Linked DNA regions of Homo sapiens: all the other regions are linked to region 1. The links are contacts of gene promoters, found by promoter capture Hi-C in human tissues and cell types (Jung and others, 2019). All regions are on one chromosome and are shown on one strand. The core of a region is centred on a gene start or on the middle of the fragment in contact, and the rest is flanking DNA. Distances in the headings are between cores, read along the strand shown.

What was found. Contacts are between HindIII fragments. The study calls those that stand out against the background at their distance.
Region 2: a fragment that was not itself captured here is called in contact with the fragment with the promoter of C3orf49 in region 1 in 2 of the 25 tissues and cell types used here (H1 embryonic stem cells and dorsolateral prefrontal cortex).
Region 3: a contact is called between a fragment that was not itself captured here and the fragment with the promoter of C3orf49 in region 1, in 2 of the 25 tissues and cell types used here (H1 embryonic stem cells and dorsolateral prefrontal cortex).

What each region holds. Positions count from the first base shown.
Region 1 is chr3:63,817,731-63,820,848 of GRCh38, forward strand. C3orf49 (chromosome 3 open reading frame 49) reads left to right here and starts at 1,569. Exons shown (of 7, transcript NM_001355236.2): 1 at 1,569-1,866. The coding sequence starts at 1,742. RefSeq lists a silencer at 916-1,035. The HindIII fragment of the contact is 1,936 bases long and covers 344-2,279 here.
Region 2 is chr3:63,462,181-63,465,210 of GRCh38, forward strand. All of the region lies in intron 2 of SYNPR (synaptoporin), which reads left to right. All of the region lies in intron 1 of SYNPR-AS1 (SYNPR antisense RNA 1), which reads right to left. Among named protein-coding and RNA genes, the nearest start is that of SYNPR-AS1, 86 kb to the right of the region's middle. The HindIII fragment of the contact is 6,778 bases long and covers 1-3,030 here.
Region 3 is chr3:63,440,906-63,444,339 of GRCh38, forward strand. The region is part of intron 2 of SYNPR (synaptoporin); the gene reads left to right. It overlaps SYNPR-AS1 (SYNPR antisense RNA 1), which reads right to left. Exons shown (of 5, transcript NR_046677.1): 2 at 3,366-3,434. Among named protein-coding and RNA genes, the nearest start is that of SYNPR-AS1, 110 kb to the right of the region's middle. RefSeq lists an enhancer at 3,289-3,434. The HindIII fragment of the contact is 5,814 bases long and covers 1-3,434 here.

The DNA.
Region 1 (3,118 bases), core at 319-2,818:
TGTCACAGATGCCACAGCAGCAAGTGTTTCAGCCTATTACATACACACATACATGCAGACATGCACACACAGAGACATGTACATAGACACCCATGCACAAATAAAAAACAGCTGTCTTTCCTAGCATAAAATTCATCTCATTCATCTAGATAATTGATGAAATACAACAGAATTAAGGCAGGAGTGCCAATAATTGCATGAAAAATATTGCCCTGTTGCTAAAGAAAATATTCATGTATTCATTTATTCAAGCACCTATTATTTATTGTGCTCTGAGGATGCCAACAGATGAGGAAAAACAGACCAGGGAGGAGCATATGTCCATTTGGCCAAGGCATATTAGATATGCTCTACTTCAGCGTTTCTCAAATAAGGGACAGAGGAACATCTGCACCCACTCTCCTAGAATATGGATTCCTGGGTCTCATTCCCTGCTGAAGCGGAATTTCTATTTCACTTGAATTTTGCCATAAAACTATGGCTTGGGCACTATGAGTTGTCCCACTTTAGGGATGAGAAAACAAGCATGGGTGGGTTAAAATGAATTGGCCAAGGTCACATAGCTAAGCTAGAAATGAGAACTCATGCATAATTCCCAAATCCACTCTCTTAGCCCCTTAACATTATACACTTCATTCTAGACCATTTTAAAGCTCTTTTCCCCAGTACTGAAACATACAAGACCCTCACTACTCCAAGTGCAGTCTGGCATCATCAGCGTCACCTGCGGGTTTGTTAGGAGTGCAAATTCTTGGATCCCAGCCCAGATGTACTGTATCGAAATCTGCATCTTAAAAAGACCTCCAGGAAGTTTGTGTGCACTTGAAAGCTTGAGAAGTATGCTCCAGATTATTGATTAATGCAAACACAGAAAGCAGAGTAATTCTTGTAACTCCCAGAACCTTTCTAGAGGAGTTTTTCTTGTTAAGCATCTAGTTATTTGACTGAACAACTCAAACCGCGAGAGGGTAACAGGAATAAATCCTAGTGTCTGCTGCCACCTTGTGGTGAGAAGTTCCATCACAGGCAGAATTCGCTCTTCACCACGAAATAAATGGGGCAATGTTGGAAGGGAGGGGTGGATCAGGTCCTCAATTTAGCAATGTACTTTGAGAGACCACTGCAAAATTCCAAGATGTAATGAAAACCACCCTTGGGGTACATTTTGAGATGTCCAAACAACAACTGGCCTTGTCATATGTGTCCCACAGGACACAGAGAACATTCACCAGCTGTAACTGAGAGATCTAACAGAAGCTCAACTTGTGTTAATCAGCGTATCGTTGGTATTCCTATAGGTCCCTACCACTTCAGAGTTCAAATACGCACTTCTGAATGTGGTGGTCAATTAGTGTGTGGGTGTTTTTTGTTGTTGTTGTTGTTGTTTGATTTTTTTTTTCTATCCAAATGCCAGCATTGAGGCAATCAGATCATCATTTCTGTATTTGCCTTGTTCAAGAATCTGTGAAGTGTTCCACAAAGGTCCATGGAATTTCACACAGCTCTGTCAAATACATCACTGGTGACCTCTGTGAAGTTGTAAACAGGGCCAGTCCCACAAATAATGTCTCTAACACCTGGAAGGGAATAAGGGAAAGACTCTAAAAATTTCCTACATATTTTATTCCGAATAGCCCACACCTTGACAGTACATTCAGTCACTGGATGATTTTGTATTGAAGTCTGTAAGTTCAAGAACTAAAACAATCCAAAACGGCTACTACAGGTGAAGTTGAGAGCAATGGCCCAACCTCAGCTGTATCTACCAGAACCCTTTAAGATTGCCTACAGAAAAGTTGGACAGTGCCGAAGATTCCAGCAACTCAAGAAGAAAAATGGCTCATTCAAAAGGAAGGGGATAGAAAGGTAACAGAGATTCATTTCCTTTTCTGTCAAATGAGAGTCTTTGGGTTTGGCATAGTGGCATGTCCTTTTAAGCATTGCATTTAGGAATGAGGACTCTGGATGGATTGGCGGGGAGGGTACTGCGTTGGATCAAGAAATCTAGTGTGACAATGTAAGCTTCATTTTATGATCAGAAACATCTTAATTGTAACAGGGAAAACCTTTCCTTTCCACTCGAAATTAAGTTTCAATGTGGCATAGGAGACTAAAATAAGTTCTGATCCTATGTTGATATTTCAGCATCAGAATTTTGGACATCTCACATCCCGTGAAAATACTATTATTTTGAAAAGTCATTAGTGCATTCTTCGAAATAGGTCCACGATCAGTGCTTTCTTTCTCCTATCCCAGCAATTTGGGCTGCTGAAATATGTACTAATCACATTTCACTATGGACACATTGTTTAATGTAACGTTAAAACTGCCTTAGACTTGCTATTTTTTTGCCAATGACAAAACCATATAGACAGGTATGAAACATCCAAAATATAATATATTTTAATTTGGAAAGTCAGTGTGGTGATTTATTTTCCAATTTCTTTGGGCTTCTCTCTTACCAGGTCCATGGGCTATAGTTCAGACATGTAGAAGTGAGGTGTTTTAATGAGTCCTGGAAGCATCAAAGACCAAGCTTGTGAACTTCCATGGACAAAATAAAATACTGCAGAGATTTCCACTTTCAATGAAAAGTAGGCACTCCGGGGGAAGCAATACAACCAAATAAATTCAGTACCAACACAAAAATATTTAAAAACTTAAGAAGGGGAGGGTTCTGCTCATATCAGAAATTGCAGCAGTGTGTTCCTAGGCTCTGGAGCTAAATCACCTTTGTTAATTATGTTCTAGATAGATTGGGGATGAGAGTGGGGAGGATGGGAATGGGAAACACCTTCTAGAGATTCTGAGACCACTTAGAACTGGGCTTTTAACATGGGTGGTCTTCAAAATTCCTGAATCTCCTGAAACTGTATTTGCATTGTTCTGTGTCACAGTATGTGTATGTGTGTACATGTTTATAGTAGTAGAATCACTTAAAAATTAAATTATTATTAAAGGAGTCTCAGAGGGGTCTACGGGAGATTAATCCTACCCATAAGTTATCTCTGGGTGAATTAGGAAATGGTGCTCCCTCCTCAGGACATTTTACTGCCATCTGCCAGAAAATCATTATAATAACTATACACAAGTCTAAGGATGAAATTGAATAGCACCC
Region 2 (3,030 bases), core at 355-2,854, 360 kb before region 1:
TTCTGTCTTTTGGGCCAGACAGACCCTTCCTCAAAGAAGCCTTCCTTGTTCACCTTATCTGAGAAGACCCCACTGTTGTTCTCTACCATTGTACCTCCTTGTACCTTAATTTCCTTTATCACAATTTTATTTTTATTTGCCTATTCATTTCTTGCTATATACATAAATAAATACGCATACACCCAGTACCTACACAATGCCTCCTACTTTGTGTGCAGTCAATAAATATTTACACTGAAAAGATGTTCATTTTTTATTTTAAGAAAAATGTCTGCATACCTCTGATAAAACAAATTGGATACAGACTGTCCCCAAAAGAGCCATAGATCAAATAAAACCTTGAAGTCAGTGGTGTGAATTTACATTCATTAACCTCCAATTTAGGTCGCTGAGTTATACTTTATTCCCAGGACATGAGTACTAGCTTCCTAAAGTCATTGATAACAGAGGTCATGGGAAGATGCCCCTCCTAAATTGTACACTGATATAAAATGGGCTGAGATTTATCTCTTTGGAATGATGATATCCTCTTCATCTATTATGACTGGGAAGAGATGAAAACATTAGACTGGAAAATTGTTATTTGCATACTTCAGTGTGCATCCATTATAATATGCAGTTACAACCAATCTCTGCTAAGGAAGTCAAAACACCATAAAATTTTGATGCCCTCAACCAGCCTGTTGAGCATTGTTTTCAGTTTCCTGTAAGGGGAAGGTGCTTGTGTGAACATACAGGCCCTGGCCACCAGGGAAATGAGTGGTGAATGGATGTTGGGTTCCACTGTTCCTGTCAGGCTCCTTTGCTCTGCAGATGCACAATTCAGCTGCCACTGATATGATGTTTTGGCCACTACAAATCACAGTCCTCAGAGACTAGGCTATTCCATTAGAAATAAATTCTATGCCACCCATAGTTACTGAGGTCTCATGTGTGCCAGTGGGTTTCTCAGAAGGATTCTGTCACTTTCTTTTACAGTCGAGGGAAAAAGGTACAGCTATGTCACTTTACTGTGGAACATTTTATTTTACCGTTGCAATGAAGTGATTTTCATTCAGGACAGCTCCCTTCTAAGAAGCAGACTGGCTCAAAAAATCCAGATCCTGGATTTTCTTAATAGATACAGTTTTGGTGCACATGGAAATAACAAAAATGGAACTGGTGACATGATTCTAAAGGACCTGATTTATGGTAAATATCCAAGAAAAGTGGAAGGTGTGAAATCAGAAACCTAAGTGGACAGTAGATCTGGAAAGTTCCTTGGAAATAGTAGCTGCCCCAAAAGTAGCTGTGAATGAATGTGAGGGATAGGTTTTCAAAGGAGGCATCCATAGTCCATCACCAGTTGTGTCACCTTATAAGTTGTGCTTCTCTGTCAGAGCAGAAGTTCTTAGGCTGAGGTCCTTGAATCTCTGGGTTGGTCTGTTAGAGAATCCTGAGAAGTATCTGAATCCACCATGTCCGCATGACAATTTTTTAATATATGCACACATGAAAAATTTTCTATGGAGTAAGTCCATAGCTTTCAGGAGGTTTCCAAAGGGGAAACTAAGCTTAAACACCAGCCCACAGATACTCCTCATCTCCTCTCATCAGGACTTTCCTAGATGACCACCATCAAATTTTCTCCCAAACAAGTTCATCTTATTCCAACTTCCAAGATAATCTCACACCTTGGAATCTTGTCATTCAATTTTTGTAAATTTTATTTATCTATTTTTTTGTAATGTTGATTCTGCTTCCTTTCACTTATATGTCTTCACATTTTATGTAGATGCCTTTTTTCGTAACATTTAGTTCTACTTTTGTCTCTTACGTAACCACTTCTAGTAGACCAAAGTACCACTAAGGCACTTTCATATACACTTGTGAGTTTCACCCTGTTTAGAGTAAAGAAGGGATGCATTTCCAATTCAACAAATTAATATTAAATGCTTGCTATGAGTTGTGCATTGTGTTTGCTCTGATGCTAGTTCTGTCATGTTGATTTTTATTTACTTTCTGCAAAGAACTTTTTCTCTAATTTTTTTTCCTACTTTTTAACTTACCTCTACTGCCTATTTGACTGGAGTTTTGCTCTGGGCTTACTGGCCCTCATTGAAGAATTTAATTTACAAACACTCCCACTGTATGGGGGTTGCAGAGATGAACAAAGGATGGTCCCTGCCTCAAAGGGCTTTCAACCAGGCAAGGAAAATTATGTAATTGCATCCTGCATTCTTTGTAATTCTTAATTGTTTCATTTTTACTTAATTTATTTTCACCTCTTCCGAAGGTATTCCACTTTTTTTCTACTTCCTCAAATACCTAATCTTCACATCTTCCTTTACTAAGAATAAGATCCTTTTGCATAAGACCCTCAATTTCCCTTTTTTCCAACTCAGCGTAACTTCTCGGAGCCCCATCCAATGCCTCCTTCTTATCTCTTAGAGAAAGAATTATCTCTCATGTTTTCATCAGACACATACTTTCTGGGCAACTACTACTTGCAAGGCACTTCCCACTTACATTTCTTTTCCCACATCTTCCAGTTTTCTCCAGCTCATGCAAATCATTTCTTTTAGAATTGTGTCACTAATTTTTGCATCATTGTCTTTGGTTCCCATCAACAAATAGGATGTCTCTGACAGTATTTTAACCTTGCTAGATGTGTTAAAAAGCAGTATACATTTAATTTGGGAGCCCAAAGCTAAATTATTTTAAAAAGGTGACTCTGTCTTTTAGTTACAGAATCACTAGATGGCTCCATCCCTGCAGTCTCTTCTGCAGTGCTGGAGTTGATGGGATACTTATGTCTATGCTCATTAGTGTGTTCCATGTGAACTCCACTTATCACTGGTACTCAGAAACTAAAACCAATATATTAAACATTAAGTAATTTGATACATTTTATTGCCTCTTAGATTTAATCAATAGAAAGACATTATTGAAAGATGGCGAGGATCTTCATCTTATTGCCTAAAAAATAATGTCTTTTACATGGAATATAAAGCCCTTTAGGCTATGGTGATCCTTCATTTCATTAAAATA
Region 3 (3,434 bases), core at 115-2,614, 380 kb before region 1:
AGTTCCAATCTCTGGTGCAAATCTGCATAATGGGGACAGCCGAGAAGTTACTGCAGGGTCCATGCATCCAAATGTGGATTTGTCATACCCTGTACACTGAATAAACAAAAGTATAAGTGCCATCACGTTGCATCCAAAGCAGAGTGGTTAATAGCTTAGACAATGGCATACAATTAGGCTCAAATTTTAGCTTTACCAGGTATTGACTCTGTACTTTCAGATAAGTTACTTAACTCTTTGGGTCTTGGTTTTTTCACCTATACCCTGGAATAAAAATTGTAACTCGTAGTTTTGTAAGGCTCAAATAAAATGATATACCAAAAACACCCACATAGAATAGTATCTGGCAAGGAGTAAATATTCAAGAAATCTTCACTATTATTATGTAGAAGACAGAACTTTTTTCCTTTTACTTGCAATGGGACTCTTAATATTCAGAGCCAATGAGAATTACTCACTGGGCTCCGTGAAGAAACAATTAAGTATGGTTCTACCCTACAGGTGCATTGCTGGAAACTGCTGCCTCTTTGACCCTACTCTGACTCTGCCCCTTATCAGCCACCTGGAGGAACTGTGGCCTTCAGCACAGAGACACTATTCTTTCAGTCAATCCTTCATTTATTTATTCTGTAAATGTTTACTGAGTGCTCACTTAAATGCCGGGTGATTCTAAGGCTTTTTTTCCCTGCTTCAGATGTGTTCACTTGCTTAATTTACTCCCCTGAGTAACTTCTCTCATTGAAGTGCAGAGATTTGTCAATAAGCAGGTGAGGGGTGGCCACAGGGGAGTGGGGAGGAAAAGGTTCCTATCAGAATTTCAAAGGGGCCATGGGGCATGTACAGTTTGAAGAATTGGTAAGCACCCCAAAAGCTCAGGCATAGGCAACAAGCGGATCGAAAGAGATGGAGGAGAGAGGGAGCTGGACTCCCTGAGCCCAGTTTGCAGGTGTGTAGTGTAGGTGAAAGCACTGCCTTGCCCGTTGTTCATTTCTTCCCCACACCTTCCCACTCACAGCTCTATGAGGCATAAGTGTAGCCATTTTACAAAGGGGAAACCAAGGCTCAGGCGCAGGCCACATGACTAGTAAGTGGGAGACCAGGACTAGAACCCAAGTTGCCTGACTCCTCGTTATGGTTTTTTGGTTGGTTGGTTTGGTCCCCCAACCTCCCCCTATCCACCAAGTTGTTACTGTGTGTATAAGAAAAGGAAGAAAGGGAGTAAGAGAGATGATGGTGGTGGCTATGATATGGTAGTGATAGTGTGTGTGTGTGTGTGTGTGTGCACGCATGAAAGAGAGAGAGAGAAGGAGACAGAGATACAAAGAGACAGAGATAGGAAGGAAAGCGAGAGAGAGAGAGACAGAGAGAGGGACCTCAAAAAAAGACTTTGGACAACTCCAAATTAACAACAAATTAATACCTATAAAAAATGTGGCCAGCCTATGTGCATTTCAACATTCCCGCACCGAGTGGGGACCCAAAGTAGGGGGCGGGAAGGAGAGGCACACAGACTTCCTCTCCCTGTGCTGCGGTATCTGCCTTGGGGAAACATTGTCCACGATGCCAGTGTGAGAACATGTCACCTGTGGCAGCCTCTCCAAGAATTTGATACAAATGCCCCCAACACACATTGCCTCAAGGTGCTATGATTTCGGCCCTTCGAAGTAGTCGAGCTGAACTCCTTCCTACAGAGGTTTATTTGAAGAAGAAAGCAGATCCATGTCGCACTTAAGCCTCTGAAACCATTTTAATTTTGAGGTTTTGCAGGAGACGTCTTTAAGTAACACTCCTGTGACGAGTGAGCAACCAAGTTGTAATCTGTCCCTTCTACAGTTGCCAGAGCCTTAAAAGCCTGTCTTCCAGTACATCACCTTAATGATTATTTATGGACAGTGTACGAGTTTCCCAAATGGGGATTATGCATAACAGCTATGCATTTACATTAAAATGAGGGCAATTTATTTAACAAACATAACAACATTTACTTAATCTATGCAAATCTATTCGTAAGATTTTATAAAACCACCATTTTTCCCCATACCCTTAAAACACAAAATTCTGGCTTTAAAAAAATCTCCTAGTTTGTTTTTAAGCACTGTGCTTGCAGGAGGAGGGGGCTGGCAGAGTAAAGGGGAGATGGTGCCTCTGTTGGTGATGCAGCCTGCTCGTGCAAAGCAGTCCTGCACTTCCAGTTGTGAGCCAAGAGCCAAGTGTGGGAGCTCACCATGGTGGCAGCCACCTCCCCACCAAGCAGGCAGCGTTCACCAGAGGGGAGTATCAGGTTCCTGTACTCAGCTGTGGGTTGTCACTGTCTAATAATATGACCGTTTTGCCATCTCTCTGCAAATGAGGCTGAAGCTGCTATCTGATTGGTATAACATCTCACTTTCCCTCTGCATTGATTTTCTTCTTCTCCTCCTTTGCTTCATAAAAAGAGGGACAAGTGGCTGGTGCTGTGGACAGAGAAGCTTTATTTTTAGTATGAGACAACCTCTATTTTCTTTCAGGAGAGGGAAGTTGGATTATCAATTCTTTTGTAAATGTGTATGGTGATATTTGCTCCGGTAAGTTTACAGCTATCTTGATTTACAGCTGGCTGTGGGGATATGTGTGTGCATGTATGTGTCTCCATAGGCACATTTGGATTGTACACTTTTCTTTCCAAGTATCAGTTTTTAAGTCTCTAGTAATAATCTCTATTTTTCTTGACTTTGCTTTCTTGTAATTTGTATGTTTAAACCAAAGAGGCTGTGTTGATACTGAAATGCTTACTTTAGCTGTTTAAGTATGTGCTGGGTTTCTTTGAACATAGTAAGGAAACTATTTAAGCAAACTTATATTTGCTTTATAAAACTGTAATGTCATTCTACCCTACCCCTCCTTCCTTGGAGTGTTTAATATCCTAAATACATTCATTGTGCTGCAACCTGCTTACCATTTTAATTAAAGTTTCTTCATCAGTGTCAGAGTGAAAATTACTTAAACTCCATATACAGCTACCAAATATTATATGTTGTGCTGAAAGGTGCTAGTTTTATAAGGTCTTATAGCAGTATGTAGAAAGAATGAGTTTCCCCTACGATTGGATGCATGCACCTTTAAAAGGACTGAATTTAGAAAAAGTATTCAGATCACTAAATGAAGTCCTAGCATGCCATGAAAAGCTACAATCACAAGTGGCTGTTGCTTCTCTTTCGTCTTTCTTTGCACTGTGTATTTCTGCCACCATCTGTCAGATGCCCAGTCCGGGCTCCTGTGTTTCTATATGTGAAGCTAATCAGGAGAAAAGTTGCTGTTATTAAATTTAACTACTGCAAAATGACTGTCCGGTCACCGTTGCTGGAAATGATTTTTAAATGCATTACCTGGTTAGCTGCGTTCTTTTTGTTCGAGAGTAAAAGATGCTCTGAATTCTTCATTGTTAATTCAGAAGT